Regions from separate parts of the Homo sapiens genome. Here regions 2, 3 and 4 are each linked to region 1. The links are contacts of gene promoters, found by promoter capture Hi-C in blood cells and fetal thymus (Javierre and others, 2016). All regions are on one chromosome and are shown on one strand. The core of a region is centred on a gene start or on the middle of the fragment in contact, and the rest is flanking DNA. Distances in the headings are between cores, read along the strand shown.

What was found. The method cuts DNA at HindIII sites, captures the fragments that hold promoters and counts their contacts. A CHiCAGO score of 5 or more calls a contact.
Region 2: a contact is called between the fragment with the promoter of RPL27A here and the fragment with the promoter of C11orf58 in region 1, in 6 of 17 cell types (total CD8 T cells, non-activated CD4 T cells, activated CD4 T cells and 3 more). The highest score is 13.8, in total CD8 T cells.
Region 3: a fragment that was not itself captured here is called in contact with the fragment with the promoter of C11orf58 in region 1 in 2 of 17 cell types (non-activated CD4 T cells and total CD8 T cells); the score reaches 6.4 in non-activated CD4 T cells.
Region 4: a contact is called between the fragment with the promoter of SVIP here and the fragment with the promoter of C11orf58 in region 1, in 5 of 17 cell types (total CD4 T cells, non-activated CD4 T cells, naive CD8 T cells and 2 more). The highest score is 14.9, in total CD4 T cells.

What each region holds. Positions count from the first base shown.
Region 1 is chr11:16,736,812-16,740,109 of GRCh38, forward strand. It overlaps C11orf58 (chromosome 11 open reading frame 58), which reads left to right and starts at 1,836. Exons shown (of 5, transcript NM_014267.6): 1 at 1,836-2,030. The coding sequence starts at 1,968. It also overlaps a transcript of SOX6 not described here. RefSeq lists an enhancer at 1,710-2,339. The HindIII fragment of the contact is 4,072 bases long and covers 745-3,298 here.
Region 2 is chr11:8,680,635-8,684,041 of GRCh38, forward strand. RPL27A (ribosomal protein L27a) reads left to right here and starts at 2,158. Exons shown (of 5, transcript NM_000990.5): 1 at 2,158-2,182; 2 at 2,568-2,631; 3 at 3,372-3,407. The coding sequence starts at 2,180. TRIM66 (tripartite motif containing 66) reads right to left here and starts at 2,031. Exons shown (of 25, transcript NM_001388022.1): 1 at 1,967-2,031. RefSeq lists enhancers at 1,588-2,787, 1,651-1,720, 1,921-2,110, 2,437-3,079 and a silencer at 2,231-2,430. The HindIII fragment of the contact is 2,972 bases long and covers 1-2,551 here.
Region 3 is chr11:7,984,608-7,987,662 of GRCh38, forward strand. EIF3F (eukaryotic translation initiation factor 3 subunit F) reads left to right here and starts at 2,730. Exons shown (of 8, transcript NM_003754.3): 1 at 2,730-3,055. The coding sequence starts at 2,746. RefSeq lists enhancers at 2,365-2,544, 2,428-2,967, 2,968-3,055, 2,975-3,024. The HindIII fragment of the contact is 5,200 bases long and covers 1-3,055 here.
Region 4 is chr11:22,828,329-22,831,377 of GRCh38, forward strand. It overlaps SVIP (small VCP interacting protein), which reads right to left and starts at 1,473. Exons shown (of 4, transcript NM_148893.3): 1 at 1,367-1,473. The coding sequence starts at 1,420. LINC02718 (long intergenic non-protein coding RNA 2718) reads left to right here and starts at 1,086. Exons shown (of 11, transcript NR_187210.1): 1 at 1,086-1,283. RefSeq lists an enhancer at 1,068-1,377 and a silencer at 1,528-1,597. The HindIII fragment of the contact is 1,537 bases long and covers 254-1,790 here.

The sequences.
Region 1 (3,298 bases), core at 586-3,085:
ACTTCCTAAAACAATGTTTCTTTTTTTTCTCTTGGGTTTACTCTCCTCCTCCTTTATGATTTATTCTTACCACAGAACCATTAAGATGTTCTTTGTTTGGTTATACTTATAAAATGTAACCCTGACATCTCTTTTTCTATTATAGTACTTACTATTATGCTATTTTTCTGCTTCCAAAATAAGGGAGAATTTGAATCTATGACTGCATAAATTTAAAAACTACCTTCCACTGGTCACAGTTCAGTGAGGATCTGAAATCTAGGTAAGTAATATTTGTACACAGGCAGTGAAACTAGAGCAATTGCTGAGTTCAAAAGCTAATAGCTAAGCATTGTTTCACAGACTGCTCTCAGTTCTGAAACAGCAGATATGTATTATCCATACCACTTATTATTTATTTATTTATTTATTTAGAGACCGAGTCTCGTTCTGTCACCCAGGCTGGAGTGCAGTGGCGCCATCTTGGGTCGCTGAAACCTCCGCCTCCCGGGTTCAAGCGATTCTCCTGCCTCAGCCTCCCGAGTAGCTGGGATTAGAGGCATGTGCCATCATGCCAGGCTAATTTTTGTATTTTTAGTAGAGACGTGGTTTCACCATGTTGATCAGGCTGGTCTCGAACTCCTGACCTCGTGATCCACCCGCCTCAGCCTCCCAAAATGCTGGGGATTACAGGCCTGAGCCATGGCGCCAGGCCTAATTTTTGCTTAAAAAAAAAAAAAATCACATTTGTATTCAAGGTGAGAAAGCTTCAGAATTATTAAGGACAAGGATTCTGACAGAAAGTTAAGTTCAGACCTGGTTACAAATTCAGACACCTTAATAAAGTAGGAGATAGTCTTCAGTATCTGAACAATAAATAGCTTTAAATGCAGGGCTTTTTGAGTAGAGGAGTGATCACTTGAATCTGGAGAGAGGGCGAGAAATGGGGAGGGATTGCTAACGGGCATTGGGGTTCCTTTTGGAGTGGTGAAACTTCTTGGAATCAGAGGTGACAGCTGCACACGATTGTGAATGTACTAAGTGACAGTGGATTGTACACTTTTTAAAAAATGGTTAATTTTATATGTGAATTTAACCTCAATAATTACTTTTTTTAAAAAAGAAAAAAAATAGAGGCTTTTGTGGCAGGGATGGACTTTGCTTGGTGAAGGCCCCTACTGTAACGGTGCCCAGACATCCACAGCGAGGTCAGTGAGGAGCACTCCCACCTCACACAAAGCCATATGAAAACTTAACAGATTTCCCTCAGCTAAATCCCCGTTTTCAACAACCGCCAATTAGCCAACATTTAACAACATACTGAACTCATTTCTGTATGGGAAAACAGCGAAATATTCATGAAAACATTTAGAAAGCAGCATCACCGACCACCTAGAAATCCCCTGCGCGCAATAGAGAACACCAGGGTGGAAATGGTAGAAGCCATTTTTGGTTAAGGTTTTTGTCCTGGGTGGAGGGTATTCGTGAGGATTCAGTCAGCCTCAAACATTACATTTAAACATAGGTGCCTAGCTACGATGATACATTTGCCAGTAGGGCAGCGTTGCACGGTGAAAGGCAAAAACCCCTCTAAGCCTCCTCCTGTGGCGACAAAGCTCTCGGCCAACGCTCACCGCCATACACATCCGCGGGAACGCTTCCTCCACCAGCCGAAGGCGGGGCCTCTGAGGGCACTCCCGCCACACAGCGCGAATTGAGCCTCGGGGCTTCCTGGGAATTGTAGTTTTAGTCACGGACACATCTTTTTTATTCGGGCCAGTATGCAATGAATCAGAAAACTACAACTCCCAAAGTGCCCCGGGGCGGCGAGGGGCCGCAACGGTGACGACTGTGGCAGAGAAGGCCCGGAGGGGCTCTGCGTTCTGTAGTGGCGCTGCTTGGGCCCTTGGCGGATTGTAAGCTGCTGGTTTTGCGGCTGGGAAGAGCGGCGAGAGGGTTCGGCATTTTTCGTCGGGATCCCCGCAAGGATGAGTGCTGCCAGAGAGTCTCACCCGCATGGGGTGAAGCGTTCAGCCTCCCCAGACGACGATGTAAATAATAATGGCGGAGTGGCTGAGGGTTGAGGCCTACTAAAGCCTGGAGTAGGCCGGGAAGGGTGGTTGGAGGAGGACGCGCCTGAGGTGGCCTGCAGCGGGAGAGCCCAGGGAAGAAACCAGAAGAATGAGTGGGAAATGCCTCCCTTAATCTTTATGAGGGTCAGAAGGTTTGAAGAGGCCCACACGCTGAGAGCCGGAGACCTGCGTAGGAAGGGGGATTGAGGAAGGAAATTCTGAGAGGGTCGAGGAGTGAAAGAGCTTAGTCAAGGGATTTCGTACGTGCGTTTTGGGGGGCCGATGAGAGTGCTTTCTCGGGCCTTTGTACTCAGTATAGAGACGGCAAGACTCTCCCTGTTTTGGGTTCTAAATGTTCCCGTGACAATGTCGAAATGTTCGTGCACGTTTGTACAGATTTTTCCTGCCTGGATGATTTTTACAATGTGCTGTTGAGAGTTAACTTTAGCTGCACTAGTAAGGGTAAACCGAGAACAGTATTGAGCCGAAAATTGTGCCACGGGTGTAATTTGGTACTGGCTCTGGTGGTGAGGTCTAAGACGTTGAGACCTAGAAGCCCATTTTGATGTCGGATATTAATACCTCGTTCTTCTTACCTCGTCTCCCCATCAAATGCCGTTCCCTTCCTCAGCCCTCACCTCATAGGTTTTAATAGCAAACGGTTTATCCCTTAAAGTAACCCGTTAAATATTTACTGCACTGCCGGGTGTTGGGAATTCGGAGAGAAATATGATGCTTATTTTAGGCCTTTTTGTATATTTGTCCTAGCTCCTAGCCCAGTGTCATGGAAACGGTAGGTAACCAGTAAACGTAAAACTAGGTCCTTCATACAATGGATAAGTGTCTTGGCAACGTTGATGGGGAAAATTGTTGGAGAGAGCGCGGAGAGGTCATCTTTAAGGAAGATGAAGGGATATCTAGGTTTTTTTTCGGTTTTGTTTAAAGTACTGTCAATTTCTGAATACATAGAGCTTTAAATTTTTCGATAGTGCATTTCAACGCTCTTCATAAAATTTTAAAAGCCCACTGAATACTACTTTGTAGCAAATGAGATAATGTTAAGACCTACCCCTCTGATGGGAGGTGGGGCGAGGACCGGAATATTAAGGATCTTTAAAGGAATCGACTTCAGCTCTGCAGAAAGATTAGCAATCAGTAAAGATTTGGGGATGAATGGGCACCTAGAGAAGTTTATTCTTGCTCTCTGTTATTTCTGCTACTGGATTTTAGATCTTGTTAATATGGTA
Region 2 (3,407 bases), core at 908-3,407, 8.1 Mb before region 1:
GAGTTCTTTGGATATGTTTACTTTGTCTGTAGAATGTCCAAGGAATACTAACCAGTAATTAAGTGACCATATGGGTGTGGAGCTCAGCAATAAGGATGTGAATTGAAGCCACCCAAGAAGACCATGTACTGTGAAAAGATAAGGACAAGGACAGAAGGCTGAGGAACATCAACATTCAAATGGTGGACAACGCTGGATGGAAGAACCTGAAAAGAAGACTGAAAAGTGACCAAAGAGTAGGAGGAAGGCAAGACTTTTTCTAGAAAAAGACGCCAACAGATTAAAGTACAACAGAAAGAACAAGTGATATGAAGAATAGGAAGAGTCCAATTTGGCAATTCGTTCATTAATGACATTAGTAAGAGCAATTTCACTGAAGTCACAGGCTGTGAGCTAGACCGCAGTGAACAATGGATGGGAAGGTGCAAATGGGCAGGATTTGTAGACTACTCTTTTGGGGAGCTTGGCTGTAAGGGCAAGGACATGGGAGAATTTTGGAATTTTTTTTTTTTTTTTTGAGACGGAGTCTCGTTCTGTCGCCCAGGCTGCAGTGCAGTGGCGCGATCTCGGTTCACTACAAGCTCCGCCTCCCGGGTTCACGCCATTCTCCTGCCTCAGCCTCCCGAGTAGCTGGGACTACAGGCGCCCACCACCACGCCCATCTAATTTTTTGTATTTTTAGTAGAGACGGGGTTTCACCGTGTTAGCCAGGATGGTCTCGATCTCCTGACCTCGTGATCCGCCCGCCTCGGCCTTCCAAAGTGCTGGGATTACAGAAGTAAGCCACCACGCCCGGCCAGAATTTTGGATATTTTAGCTAAAATATATTTTAGCTGAAGGGGGCAAGACAAAGAAAAATAAATAAATACACGCTCACACATACACACAGAGAATAACTGAGGGGATGGGATTTTAAAAATTTATTTCATTTTTCCCATGGGATCTATTAATAGACTAGCGAGGGGATGGGATCTTGAACACTGGTTGAAGGAACCGACTTAAGAGCGAAGACATGCTGCTATTAGCGAAGACAGGGAGGTGAGGGTAAGTTCATTTATTCACTCAACAATCACTAGTTGAGTGTGGATTAAAAAAAACAGTCCTTGACCACATAAGGAATTAGGTCTAGTAGGGAAGACAAACGTAGGTCAATAAATTACATAAGGGTTATACTAGATTGTGTGGTGGTACAGGTGGGGAAGCGAGCAACTGTCTGCATTGTGTCCAGGAAAGGGTCACAGGCGTGTTATGTAGATTCTGGAGAAAATTCAAAAATAGCATTTATTTTTACTTATTTACTTTTGTATGTGGAGACGAGGGTCTCACTATGTTGCCCAGGCTGGTGTTGAACTACTCGCCTCAAGAAATCCTCCCGCCTCGACCTCCCAAAGTGTTGGGACTACAGGTGTGAGCCACCGCGCCTGGCCTAAATGTGGCATTTAGAAAAAGTATTTACAACATCTGCATTAAAAGGACCATAAAGCAACCAGGCATCTAAGTCCCTGAAGCAATTTAAGTTGCTCAAACTTGAGAGGACAACCAAATGATAGCAAAAGGGCAAAAGAGAAAGGAAGCTGCAGTGCCCACTCAGAAGTGTGAGAGCGGGAGAAGGCATTTCGGGAGCCGCCCGAGCTTCAGGAAACCGAGCGAGACACCAGGTGGGCACACTGAGGATTAAAGAGGGCCTCGCGGTTCCGCACTGCGGCCGGGAGACAAACCAGTAGCCACTATCACCAGCCCCGGGCAGACCACTAAGAACTGTGGAGGTGCGCGGGGCGGCTCAGGGCTGGCGCATTTGGTGAGGAGCTCAGACAACGAGGCCCTTAGGGTCGGCTTAGGCGGTTCCCTGACCAAGGCGCCAGAAAAGGGCCTGGCTCAAGCAAGCACGGGCGGCGTGCAGTACAGCACACCTAGCCCCGATTCTTCAACAGTTCTCGCCCTCCGAGCCTAGCACAACGAGCCTCACCGAAACCGTACACCGCCACCAGGACACTCCGTGATGGGGGATCACCACCCTCAGAAAGAGGAAGCGACTAGCAGGCGCGCAATCCCGCGAGACCAGGAGGCCCCGCCCGAAGCCCGGCCTCTGTGACCGGAAGTGAGGCGTTTTGCCCCGCCCCCGTGGCCGATACCTCGCGAGACTTGGCGAAGGCCTTCCTTTTTCGTCTGGGCTGCCAACATGGTAGGTGTTTCGTTTCTTGCCTCCTCTTCCTTGCCGGCGGAGACCCCTAAGCTGTATTCCCATTGCCCCTAGTCATCCACTCCCTACCATGGTCGGGGCTTCCAGGCTGCGCATGGCCGCCTGCGGGGCAGGGTGGCCGGCGCGGGCCCGGGGCGGGGCTCCCGGAGCCGTGTGTTAGGCCCGCGGTTCGGATCTCTAGGACACGCGGGCCCCTGCGCTACCGTGGTGAGACCTCACGGCCCTGAGCGGATCGGTACCCTCAGCTTTCCCAAACGCTCCAGAAGTTAGGTCTTTGACCCACAGGCTTACAGGACCATCTCGGCTGGCGGGCATCGCCCCCTGCCCCTAATTCCTTAGGCCTTACCACCAAGCTTTTTCCACACAGCCATCCAGACTGAGGAAGACCCGGAAACTTAGGGGCCACGTGAGCCACGGCCACGGCCGCATAGGTAAGTGCCGGCTTCCCCTCGGGGTGGGCCTTGGGCTCTCTTCGGGTGCTTAGCTAGTCTGGAGATCGGTAGCCTATAAGTGGGTTAGAATAAGACCTTTTTGTGGTCAAGTTGCACAGCTGTTGATTTTTTTCTGACGATCCTCTAGTATTCCAGTTCTAAGGAATTTCACATCAGTGGGGTAATAGGAATTGAGCAGGCACGGTATTGGGTTAGTTGAAGACATGGAGTACTGTGGGAATGCTGTGATGTGGAACCTGAAAAGATGTTTCACCCGGAATCCTAAAGTAATCGCATTGCTGAAAACCGGCATCGGTAGGGTGGGAACAGCGTAAGCGGGACACAGAAGTCTGGGAAACACTCTGCTTTTGTGCGAGGAAGTATTGAGATGCATGAGAAGGCTGTGTGGTGCATGTAGCTTTTTTGTGTGTGTGTGAGACTGATCACTGTCGCCCAGGCTGGAGTGCAGTGGCGAAATCTCGGCTCACTGCAACCCCTGCCTGCCGGGCTCAAGCGATTCTCCTGCCTCAGCCTCCCGAGTAGCTGATATTACAGGTGTGCGCCACGACGCCCGGCTAATTCTTTTTCTATTTTTAGTAGAGTCGGGGGTTTCTCCGTGTTGGCCAGGCTGGTCTCGAACTCCTGACCTCAGGTGATCTACCCCCCCTCGTCCTCCTAAAATGCTGGGATTACAGGCATGAGCCATCACACCGGCCCCACGTAGCTTTGTATTCCTGCAGGCAAGCACCGGAAGCACCCCGGCGGCCGCGGTAATG
Region 3 (3,055 bases), core at 556-3,055, 8.8 Mb before region 1:
TAGGCCTTTTCCAGCCTTTTGACTTGAATGGAAACATCAGCTCTTCTTGGGGTCTCAAGCCTGTCAGCTTTCAGTCTGGAACTTACACCACTGGCTCTCCTGGGTCTCCAGATTGTTCACTGCAGATCTTGAGACTTCTTCCATAATTACAAAAGCCAATTCCTTATAATAAATCTCTTTCTATATATATCCTGTTGGTTCTGTTTTTCTGTAGAACCCTAATACACTCGTACAATACATTGCCCATCTACATGGGTACAGTCTATTTTCTCTCTTCCCATACCTCTGCCCTTTCCCTGATGAACCCAGGCCCCAGATATCTCTCAGACAGCCACTGAAAAGCCAGCATTTGGGATATACACACTCTCATCCTGGCCAGTCAGCCTCCCAGAAAGACCACACCAACCATCTGTACTCTCCTGCTCCTGGGCTATGTTGCTAGAGAAAAACCACAAGAGTTGGCCAGATTCTCGAGCTCTCCAGGCTCAGGGGGTGCTCCCATAATTGATCAATGCCTTCAATAGCTCACTCTCAGACCCTCCTCCAAACACTGTCCATTCCCCCGAGGCTTATCCCTGCCCTTGCATTGCCATTCACAGCAGATCACCTTGCCTCAACTTACCTGAGAAAAATGTCATTTGCAGGAGGTCCTGCAACTTCCCTCTCTCCCCAATTCATCTCTGCTTCTTCATCCATCCCCTTCTCTTTTCTCCCAGAGAGAAATGTCTTTAAGACATCAATATAAAGGCAAAGTTATTGAAGGCAAAGTGTCCACACCAACCCAGATTAACACATAGATAGGAGGTCTCAAAGGTGTGCATGGTCAGTTGGGGGCAGCAACACTTCTTCAACTGGGTTCTGTCCTCTGGCCTTTTTCCCATGAGATGATCTCAATGGACTGACCTTGACTCAGGCAGACCCCTACTAAGCACCCAAAAGGGAGGCCAGGGCCCTGGGCAGTCTCTCCAGCATGCCTCTCAGCCTGTGCAAGACCATCTAGGCTTCTCAGTGTGGGTCCACCTTTTGCCCGTTTCATTAGATATTTTTTCACACTTGTATATTTAATATTTCTCTCTCGTCTATATTCTTATCCTCAGTTTAAAATATACTTGAAACACTGCCATCCTAAATTGGCTGCCTCTCAATCCTGCTGTTTCCCTGGCTATTTCCTTAAATGTCTCCTTTCCTTCCCAGAAAACTTCCTGAAAGAAAAGCTGGCACTTGCTGCTTTCAGTTCAGACTGGCCATTCTCTCACACCAGATTTCTAGTTTCTGTGCCCACCCCACCCTCAGTCCCACTGACGTTGCTCTACTAGGGTTGCTAAAGACTCCAGGTCATCAAATCCAAGAGTTACTTTTCAATCTTCTTCTGTTTGGCTGTTCACCTTTGTTTTGGTGAAAGAAAGAATGCATGTCTACACAGAGCATTTACAGGGGAGCAGCGTCATGTGAATTCTAATAATGGAAGATTTCTCCAAGGAGAAATCAACTCTTGGGCACAGAATCAGGGATAAGAAGTTCAACCTCACCTATCCACTTGCCAGCTGGACACTAGGACTTGACCTAATTAAGGGAGTTGACAGTTTTTTTGGTGTTTTGTTTTGTCTTTACAAGCAGATGTTATCACCCCATTATACCAAGAAGGAAATTGAGGCTCAGAAAAAACTTGTAGATTGCCCCAAGTTACACAGTGGGTTATGGTCAGAGCTCCCTCCATCACATAGTGATAATAGCTATGACTTAATAACTACTGTATATCAGGCATGTGCTAAGAGCTTTACAAGGCAATACCTCATATAATCCTCTCCTAAAGTACAGACTAGTTTATACACCTTATTACAACTCCACTTGAATGTGTAATGGACATCTCAAAGGTGACACATTCAGAAATGAAATCAGGATCTTTTCCCCAAAACCTGCTCTACCTACAGCTTTTGCTATCTCAATTGATGGTGACTTCATCCTACTAATCGCTCAGTACAAAAAAAAAAAAAAAAAATTGCAGTCCTCCTTGACTCCTCTCTTTCACACCTCATATACAATTTCTCAGGAAACCCTATTGAAACTACCTTCAAAATATATCCATAATCTTCCCACTTCTCAGAACTTCTACTGCTACCAGCCTGGTCCCAGCCACCATCATCTCTCACTTAGATTACCTAGTGGCCTCCCAGCAGGTCTCCCTGCTTTTCCCTCTCTCGCCTCCCTCTCCTCACCTCCCCTCACCCTCCAGTCTCTTCTCAAAGCAGCAGGAGAAATCCAGCTAAGTTCTCCTTCTCGCCCATTGCAGCCTCGAGCTTCTGGGCTCAAACGATCCTTCCGCCTCGGTCTCCCGAAGTGCTGAGATTACAGGCGTGAGCCACCGCGCCTGGCCTTAAAATCCTTTTTAAAGGCACTTTGACATCCATTATCTCATTTAAGTCTAAAACACGAATTTCGACCTCCGCGCTGCTTTCTGGTTCCACCTGGCGGCAGCTGCACAAAGTGTTTCTCTTCGAACGCCGTCCCAAGTTTTACCCGGAACTACTTAGCCCAGGGTTTCCTGAGTGCTCCTCGGGCCAAAAGCAGAGCGCACAAATTCCAGAAGAAATTACCAACGGCGGGACTATTTCAGTGCTCCGAGAAGTATCACCAGTAACCAATCAGCAAAAAGCTCTAGCTCACGTGGTGTATATTCAGCCTATCAAGCTCCTGATATTCATGAATGCTGTCATTTCCGCTTCCGCCTCCTTCTTTCTCGACAAGATGGCCACACCGGCGGTACCAGTAAGTGCTCCTCCGGCCACGCCAACCCCAGTCCCGGCGGCGGCCCCAGCCTCAGTTCCAGCGCCAACGCCAGCACCGGCTGCGGCTCCGGTTCCCGCTGCGGCTCCAGCCTCATCCTCAGACCCTGCGGCAGCAGCGGCTGCAACTGCGGCTCCTGGCCAGACCCCGGCCTCAGCGCAAGCTCCAGCGCAGACCCCAGCGCCCGCTCTGCCTGGTCCTGCTCTTCCAGGGCCCTTCCCCGGCGGCCGCGTGGTCAGGCTGCACCCAGTCATTTTGGCCTCCATTGTGG
Region 4 (3,049 bases), core at 223-2,722, 6.1 Mb after region 1:
TCAGAAAACAGTGAATGCTATTTTTCTAGACCATGTACTACTTATTATAAAGCCCTTTTTCTAGGTGCTGGGATACAACAGTGTAAAAACATAGATAAATGTCTCCTCCCAAATGAAACAAATTCCAATTGCGGGCGCACAGACAAATATAATGAAGTAAGTAAACGTCTGTCAGATGGCATGGCAGATAAGTAATGGGAGAATGGGTGGGTGGTATTGTGGGGAATATATTTTGTTTAACGTGGTCAGCAAAAGCTTCACTGGTAAAGTGACATCCAAGCAGTGAGCCGTGTGGTTATCAAGGGAAGAGGGTATAGTATGAGGATGGGGGGGAGGGCTTAACAAATCTGACATGTTATATTTTATCGACAGCCAGAACAACAAAATCAACTTAATTTAAAACAACAGCAGCAACAAAGAGAAGCTGAACTTTCCCACATCAAATTTATAAGTACTAAATTTTTAGTATCTATAGTAGCTGAAGAGTTAATGTACTTCCCAAAAATACTTCATTTTCTTCAACTAATTTTTAGCTAGAGAAGAGAAACAGGTTTATGTTAACTCCCTGTAAGGAGTACTAATGTAAAGATACTGTTAACAGAAAGCTACAAAAAGTGTACATGTATTGTACCACACACCCACTAGCTACATTTGAATTTCAGATAAGCAATGAGTAATGTTTTTGTAGAACTAGATCCCTAATATTGCATGGCACAAAACGATATTATAAACGTATTCCTTGTATATCTGAAATTCGAATGTAACTGGGTGTCCAGTATTTTTATTAAATACGACATTATAAATTGGACACTCTGTACTACATATTCTTTTAAAGGGAGAACGTAAAAGAATGAGATAAATACTAAAAAGAAATCATTAAAAAAACATATCCGATAAAGCTCAGGCGTATAAGCGACTTTCCGAGCACCTTCTTTTAAAAGATGGTAGACACAGTTGAAAACGCACATCTCCTAGACGACTAAAGAGCTCCCGGAGAAAGCAATGTCTTTTCGCGCCGAATTCCATCTACCACATCCCCCGGAATGTCCCACGCGTAACGCCCTCTGCGTGCGCCGGCGCCCTATGAAGATCCGGCGCAGCTAAAGTCAGTGGAAGGTAGAAAGACGCCACAGCCGCCTTTCGACAACTTTTTGTTACAAAAGTGGAGATCTACACGGAGGCGACGGCCTAGGTCGCTCTGACAGGACCCAACGACCCTCCTGACGCGTCCACCCGTCCTCGCTAGCAGGGTCCCCCAGCGGGCTCTCGACCTGCGCCACCAGGTACAATGGCTCGGCCCGCCCCGCAACCCGAGGACAGGTGCTCAAGGCGCGGCCCGGCGGACGCAGGGACCTGCTCTACTCACCAGGTCCGGCGTGGGAGGCGCGGACTCCCCGGGACAAGGAAAACACAGCCCCATAGGGACGACAGCTTGAGAACCCTGACCGGGTCCGGCCCAGGCCAGGCGGCGCTAACTGCGCGGTCCGGAGCCGGTCCCTGGTCCTCCGCGCTTGCCCCGCCCCCACCGCCCTCCACTGGCTCGGCTCCGCCCCAGCGGCAACGCCCCGCCCCCACCCCGCAGCTCTGCCCCGCCTCGCCTCTCTGCGGCAACGCCCCCCTCTTCTCGCGACACCAACCAGTCCCACAGCTCAGCTGCGCCCCCTTAAGGCATTGCCCCTTCCTCACCCACAGCTCCGCCTACCCCCGCCCCGCGACCGCTGGGCTTGTGGCCAAAGCCTAGGTTCCAGGAAACACCTGCTGTGGGTAGCAATGCAGGGAAGGGATGGAAAAGCTTCGCTACGGTTCCAAAGCTCTTCCTGCTAACCTTGCCTTACCATTTATAAATGAATGAGTGGTACAGCTCTGGGTAGTTCATGCTACCTTTTTTTATGAGATGGGACTCTGGTGTCCTAGAAATTAAAGCCAAAATTCCAAGTAAACATCAGCACCCTTTTCTCCCTTCTTAGTGACAGTGCTATTCCAGAACAGAGGGCAGAATATAAAATCCATTATTATGACGATGAATCTAGCGTCATAAATGTGGCATTAGTTGACATTTCCACTAGTTTCTGGTATTTAGAAGTCATTTATCCTTCCGAGAGAAATAATAAAGTTTCATCTACTGAGAAATGTTTTAATGATTCTCCTCAAATTTTAATAAGTATGAGAATCAGCTGGGCAACTAGTTAAAATTTACTTGCTGATTTAGTAAGTATAAGGTGGGACCTGAGATTCATTTCCAGTAAACCCACAGGTGATACTAAAGTTACTGATCTCGTCTCCACACAAATGCTTTTATTTTATTTTATTTTATTTTTGCATTCTATTAGTTATTTCTGCTTATGTAAAAATTTTCAAACATTACAAAAAGGTAGGATGTATAGTGACAGCGTCTCAGAAACCATTGTCGGCTTTTTGATATACTTGCTGGTTAATTTTTTATAGATGTATAATTTACATATAATATTATGCACTTATTTTGATTGTAGAGTTCACTGAGTTTTAACAAACATGTGATCACCACATTCAAGATATGTAAGTTTTCCATCACCCAAAAACCTTCTATTGTACCCAATCCCATTCAATACTTTATCCTATACCTAGATCCAGGAAACTATTAATTTGTTTAATATCACTTTAGTCTTTAAGTTTTGCATAAATGTTAATATCACTATAGTCTTTAAGTTTTACATAAATGAAATATACAATATGTTTTGCAAAAGCCATAATATTTTCTAAATTCTTCCATGTTATTGAATGAAACAGTAGTTTATTCCTTAAATAATAGGGGATGATGCTTTTTTAATACTATTATTCGATTGCATGGGCCGTTTCTAAGGGTAAATAAAAATATATAAAGAAAAAGTGAAGGTTCTCTGTTGCAAAAAGAGAAAGATAACTACCCACCTCCTCTTTAGCATTGTGTTTAGAAAACGTGAAATTGTAAGCGCTATCTCTGTCTCACTGAAATGTATGAAAAAAAAAAAAAGGCCAGGCATGGTGGCTTACTCCTGTACTTTTGGAGGCCAAGGTGGGTGGATCACCTGAG